Linked DNA regions of Homo sapiens: region 1 is linked to region 2. The links are contacts of gene promoters, found by promoter capture Hi-C in human tissues and cell types (Jung and others, 2019). All regions are on one chromosome and are shown on one strand. Each heading gives the region's core, a stretch centred on a gene start or on the middle of the fragment in contact. The rest is flanking DNA. Distances are from core to core; before and after follow the strand shown. Region 1 has its middle 14 kb from the start of SPATA31F3. Region 2 holds the start of CCL19 (C-C motif chemokine ligand 19).

The links. The method cuts DNA at HindIII sites, captures the fragments that hold promoters and counts their contacts. A contact is called where the count stands out against the background at its distance.
Region 1: a contact is called between a fragment that was not itself captured here and the fragment with the promoter of CCL19 in region 2, in 3 of the 25 tissues and cell types used here (heart left ventricle, hippocampus and mesendoderm cells).

The regions. Positions count from the first base shown.
Region 1 is chr9:34,908,039-34,910,738 of GRCh38, reverse strand. It overlaps a transcript of PHF24 not described here. Among named protein-coding and RNA genes, the nearest start is that of SPATA31F3, 14 kb to the right of the region's middle. The HindIII fragment of the contact is 3,933 bases long and covers 1-2,700 here.
Region 2 is chr9:34,690,018-34,692,779 of GRCh38, reverse strand. It overlaps CCL19 (C-C motif chemokine ligand 19), which reads left to right and starts at 1,504. Exons shown (of 4, transcript NM_006274.3): 1 at 1,504-1,689; 2 at 2,438-2,570; 3 at 2,757-2,762. The coding sequence starts at 1,641. It also overlaps a transcript of PHF24 not described here. The HindIII fragment of the contact is 19,341 bases long and covers 1-2,762 here.

The DNA.
Region 1 (2,700 bases), core at 107-2,606, 220 kb before region 2:
ATGACAAAACCCCTTAGTCTTTAAATCTATTTCTTTTTATCTCATAACTTAGTAACATAGACTACTATGTAAATACACTTTTAAGTGTTCACAAAAAGAAACCCTAACAGTTTAATAAAGATTTTAGACTTTAAAAACATTTACTTACATATTTTAATTGACAAATACAAATTATATATGTTTATCATGTATGTTGTTTTGAAATATACATTATGAAATGGCTAATTTGAGCTAATTAACATTTGTACTACCTCACATACTTATTTTGTATGTATGTAGCGAGAACACTTAAAATCTACTCTCTTAGAAATTTTCAAGATCTTTTAGACATTTTTGGCTGCTTATCTGGACTAGTTATTCCTAGAGTATGCACGTAATAACAGAGTGACTTTTATTTCTAAGTTAATTTTTAATGTTTTCCAAGAGAGGGGAAAAAAGGAGGGAAAGGAACAGAACAAAAGAGAGGAGATCCTCATTAGCATAGTGGTGAGCCAAAAAAAAAGAGGCAAAACTGGCTTCAGACAAATATGAATACTGTAGAAGACTAATTATATTCCTTCTTCAAGGAGAGGAGAGAAAGCTTAGATGCAGGAAAACCCATTTTCACATATAGACATACAACAGAGAGTTATTATGGCTGGTTGAAACAGTAGCTCTGACCTTCCACAATTTTATAAGTGATACAATTTAAAAGCCAGCATTTATTAACTCCTGAAGTACAGAAATGAAGGAGGGGTGTCTTCTACATGAAACAAAACAATCACTCCATCTTAATCAGGCAAGATGAAAAACCTCCTTAAAAGGATTTCTTCGGCTGGGCGCGGTGGCTCACGCCTGTAATCCCAGCACTTTGGGAGGCTAAGGCGGGCAGATCACGAGGTCAGAAGATGAGATCCAGACCATCCTAGCTAACACAGTGAAACCCCGTCTCTACCAAAAAACAGAAAAAATTAGCCAGGCATGGTGGCGGATGCCTGTAGTCCCAGCTACTCGGGAGGCTGAGGCAGGAGAATGGCGTGAGCCCGGGAGGCGGAGCTTGCAGTGAGCCGAGATCGCGCCACTGCACTCCAGCCTGGGCGACAGAGCGAGACTCCGTCTCAAAAAAAAAAAAAAAGGATTTCTTCTCTTTATGTTCTAAGGTACCTCTCAAAAGAACAAAGTAGTCTCTGTAAATAGTTCACTTAAGTGTTTGCTGCAATTGCAAACGGTCCCTGGTAAAATTGTGACAGACAGAGAAGCATACAAGATAATGTGATAGTGAGAAACCATACAGGAATTGAGCATTTGGCCTAGATGAGGCTCAGTTTGGGATGAGGCAGAACACGTGAAATGTCAATGGTCCATAGGATGGTGCTTGTCCAGAGCTTGGCCAAAGGCCAGGCTGCCACTGATGACAGGCTAGCTAAACCTCCCAAGTTGGGCAGACAAAACTAAACAAATTAGTCCCCAAAGACACAAAGATAAGATAAGGGAAGAGCCAGGTATAGCGGTGTGCTCTTGCAATCCCAGCTGTTTAGGAAGCTTGAGCCTGAGAGTTCGAGGCCAGCCTAGTCAACATAGTGAGACCCCATCTCTTAAAAAAGAGAAAAAGGGGGCCGGGCATGGTGGCTCACCTGTAATCCCAGCGCTTTGGGAGGCTGAGGCAGGTGGACCACAAGGTCAGGAGTTTGAGACCAGCCTGACCAACATGGTGAAACCCCATCTCTACTAAAAATACAAAAAATTAGCCGGGCATGGTGGCAGGCACCCTGTAATCCCAGCTACTTGGGAGGCTGAGGCAGGAGAATTGCTTGAACCTGGGAGGTGGAGGTTGGAGTGAGCCAAGATCGCACCACTGCACTCCAGCCCAGGCGACGACGTGAGACTCTGTCTCAAAAAAAGAAAAAAAAAAAAAAAGAAAAGAAAAGAAAAGAAAAAAAGGATGAGGTAAGATAAAATAAGATTGAGAAAGAAGTCCTTATAAGGATTTGAAGTGGTGACCCGAGACAAAGTCTGTCCAAAGGACACCATACTATGGAGGCTTTCTGAAGTCCTCAACCCCTTGTGTACTGGCTTGAGGGACTGTCTTATTGGATCTTTACCTGTCTTCTCCCTATAGATGTTTCCTGTTCCCTTTTCCCAGAGACATGCATGAGTTGCTCCCTTATCTCCTACTGGTCTTTGCTCCAATATCATCTTCTCAGACCTCCCCTTGCCACCTATTAAAAATGACAAATCTTGTTTATACTCTTGACTTAGTCTCTTCTTTATTTTTCTCCACTGCACTTATCACCATCTAACATACTACATATTTTCCTATTTGTTTGCTTTCTCTCTCCTTCCACTAGAATGAAAGCTCCCAGAGGGATTTTTTTTTCTGTTTCCGTCTTGACTATAACAATGCCTTTCACATAAACAAATGTACCCAATTTAAATTTGAGGGATCAATGAATTGTCTATGGCAGTGGCAGTGAAGACAAAAGCCTTAAATGGAGCCTAAAATATCCTTACAACAAGAAGTGCCCCTTCCTCAATTACAAAACATTTGTTTCTGGGGTATGGTATTAGTTCCATAAGCTAGAAGAGAAAACTTACAGCAGGTGAAAACTACTGTGAAGAGGCCGGGTGTGGCAGCTCACGCCTATAATCCCAGCACTTTGGGAGGCCGAGGCGGGCAGATCACGAGGTCGGGAGTTCGAGACCAGCCTGACCAACATGATG
Region 2 (2,762 bases), core at 255-2,754:
AAGAAGAACAATGGCTAACAGAGCTTATTGTGCGTCAGCCTCTAAGCTAAGGGCTTTACTCAGGGTTCCTCACTTAATCCTAAGAAGTAGATCTTCTACCATTCCCATTTTACAAATAAGGACACTAAGACACAGAAACTGGAGAATTTTCACCTTGTCGCAGTTAGTAAGTGGTGGAATCTGAATCCCAAGCTAGGCGCTCTGTCTGCAGAGTCTCCCTCCTCTGCACCGTGACTACCCGTGCTGTGCCATGACCAAGTGGCAGACAGGCGGTGTGGAGTGGAGGTAAAGACTGCAAACCCTAGAGCACACCTGGGTCCAAATCATGCTCCAGTACTTACTAGCTGTGTGGCTTTGTGCTCTGAGCCTCATGTTCCTTATGTGTAAAATAAGAATAATAATGTGAAAATAAGAAAAACTACATCAATGGTATTGTTTTGGGAAAGTTAAGCAAGGTAATAGTGGTAAAGTCCTTGACATAGAGCCTAGCACATAGTAAACAATCAAAAATACCATTACTATTATTATGATTAATGAATGGAAAGAAGCTAAGTCAGAAATTTAAGAGGGAAATGTTCCCCCTCCCTCTCTCCATCCAAAAGAGGGTCTAGGGTTTGGGTGACGACGGGTGACTGGGCGTTTCACATTTAGTTTCTCTTTCAAGGCCTTCTCTTCTGACCTTTCTCATAAGGATGGGAAGTCACTTGTCCCCTCCCCCATCGGCCGATTCCTTGAAATTTTAAGATTTGTCTGAATATGAGCTGGCCAGCCCCTCTCCTTAGAAATCCCCTCTTGGTTCCCAGGACTGAGAAAAGGGGGAAAATGAAGGGGGCTATTCCAAGCCAGTCTCCCTCCAGCTGTTCCTTTGACCCAGGTGTTGGACATAGGAAAACAGTAAATAGAGGAAGGGGAGGGTTTGCTGAGCCCCAGAGGCCTGAGATGTGGGATGGGGGTCCTGGGCCTCCTCCCAAGGTACCTGGCCTTTCAGCTCTGCTTGCCCCAAGGGAAGGACTGGTTCCCACATAGTGGGCAGGCACAGTGATGACCTTGGAGGCCACCCCAGGATCTCATGGTTGTCCTGAGGGTGCCAGGGAGCCTTCTTCACCACCAGCCCAAGAAAGAAGCACCAGTGAGGACAAGGGATAAACCTAAGGAAGGGAGCACAGTTCCTCACTGTGGGCCCCACCTTTGACCATCACTTCTGAACCCCAGCTTCATGGTTGATGATGCAAATGCCATCAATGGGATGACAGGGCAATCCCTCTCTCTGGAGAAACAGTGCACAGCCCCCTTTACTGGGCCAGACTGCAGACTTAAGTTCTCAGAGCAGGAGCCAAGGAAAGCAGAAGGAAAGGGCAACCGCAGGGGGAAGAAGGGGGGCAGGGTGCGATTCTGCCAGAAAGAGGGGGGCAACAGGGGAATCACAGAATGGGACATGAAGGGGAATTTCAGGCAGAGAAAGTGAAGCTCTGGCCATAAATAGGAGTCAGCTGCAGGGCTCACATTCCCAGCCTCACATCACTCACACCTTGCATTTCACCCCTGCATCCCAGTCGCCCTGCAGCCTCACACAGATCCTGCACACACCCAGACAGCTGGCGCTCACACATTCACCGTTGGCCTGCCTCTGTTCACCCTCCATGGCCCTGCTACTGGCCCTCAGCCTGCTGGTTCTCTGGACTTCCCCAGGTAAGGCTGAAGGGAGAGTCAGGGTCAGAGGCAGTGGGGGGCTGGCAGTGGGTAATGTCTAGATCTCAGATTGCTTGGCACTGGACGTAAGGGACATGGTGAGTTCAGGCAAATGCTTAGGTCTGTATATTTCGGTGAGCCTGGCAGGTCCCTGCATGTGTGCCTGTAAGTGTGGGTGTCCCTGTGCCCCTGAATCCCAATGCGGGTGTGTCTTTTAGCACATCCTGGGGCCTATGGCTGTGACTGTCTCTGCAAGCTCTATTTCCTGCTGCCTCCGTTTCCCAGGCAGAAGGAGATTTGCTTAAGGTAGGGAGAATGGCAGACACTAAGCCAAGGCTGATATTCAAAAATTTTAGCAATTAATAAGGCTCCTAACACCAGCCTACCCTACCCCACGCCCCTCCCACACTGTGACCTGCATTAACTCTTTACTTGCTGGATTGTCCTGGGAGAGAGGTTGGGGTGATCAGGGCAGCAGGAAGTCATTTGTGGGGCTCAGGGCAGTGGTTATTTACAAAACAGTTTAGAAGTATGACAATATATTTAGCAACCAGTAGAGCCAGAGCCATATTGGTGCATAATGGCTGAATACCAGGTCTAACTCCTCCCCGACCCCACCAGACACACACACACACACACACACACACACACACACACACACACACAGGTGTCCTCAATCCGAGCTAGGGCCATGGCCATGCCACCCTCAAGGGTCCCTGTGTCCTGTCACCTTCTTTCCCCATCCCAGCCCCAACTCTGAGTGGCACCAATGATGCTGAAGACTGCTGCCTGTCTGTGACCCAGAAACCCATCCCTGGGTACATCGTGAGGAACTTCCACTACCTTCTCATCAAGGATGGCTGCAGGGTGCCTGCTGTAGTGTGAGTTGTGGGGAGGGTGTCTAGCCTCATCTCCCGTTTTAGCCCCTGTTGAGACTCCCACCTTCTTATTCCCCTTCTCCATGCCAAGCCCAACCCCTTCAAGGAAATCCCTGAAACAGGTTCCCAGACATGGTCCCCAGGCATGCTGGATTCTGGGGCTCCATTCTCTCCGGCCTCTCACCCCAGGTTCAC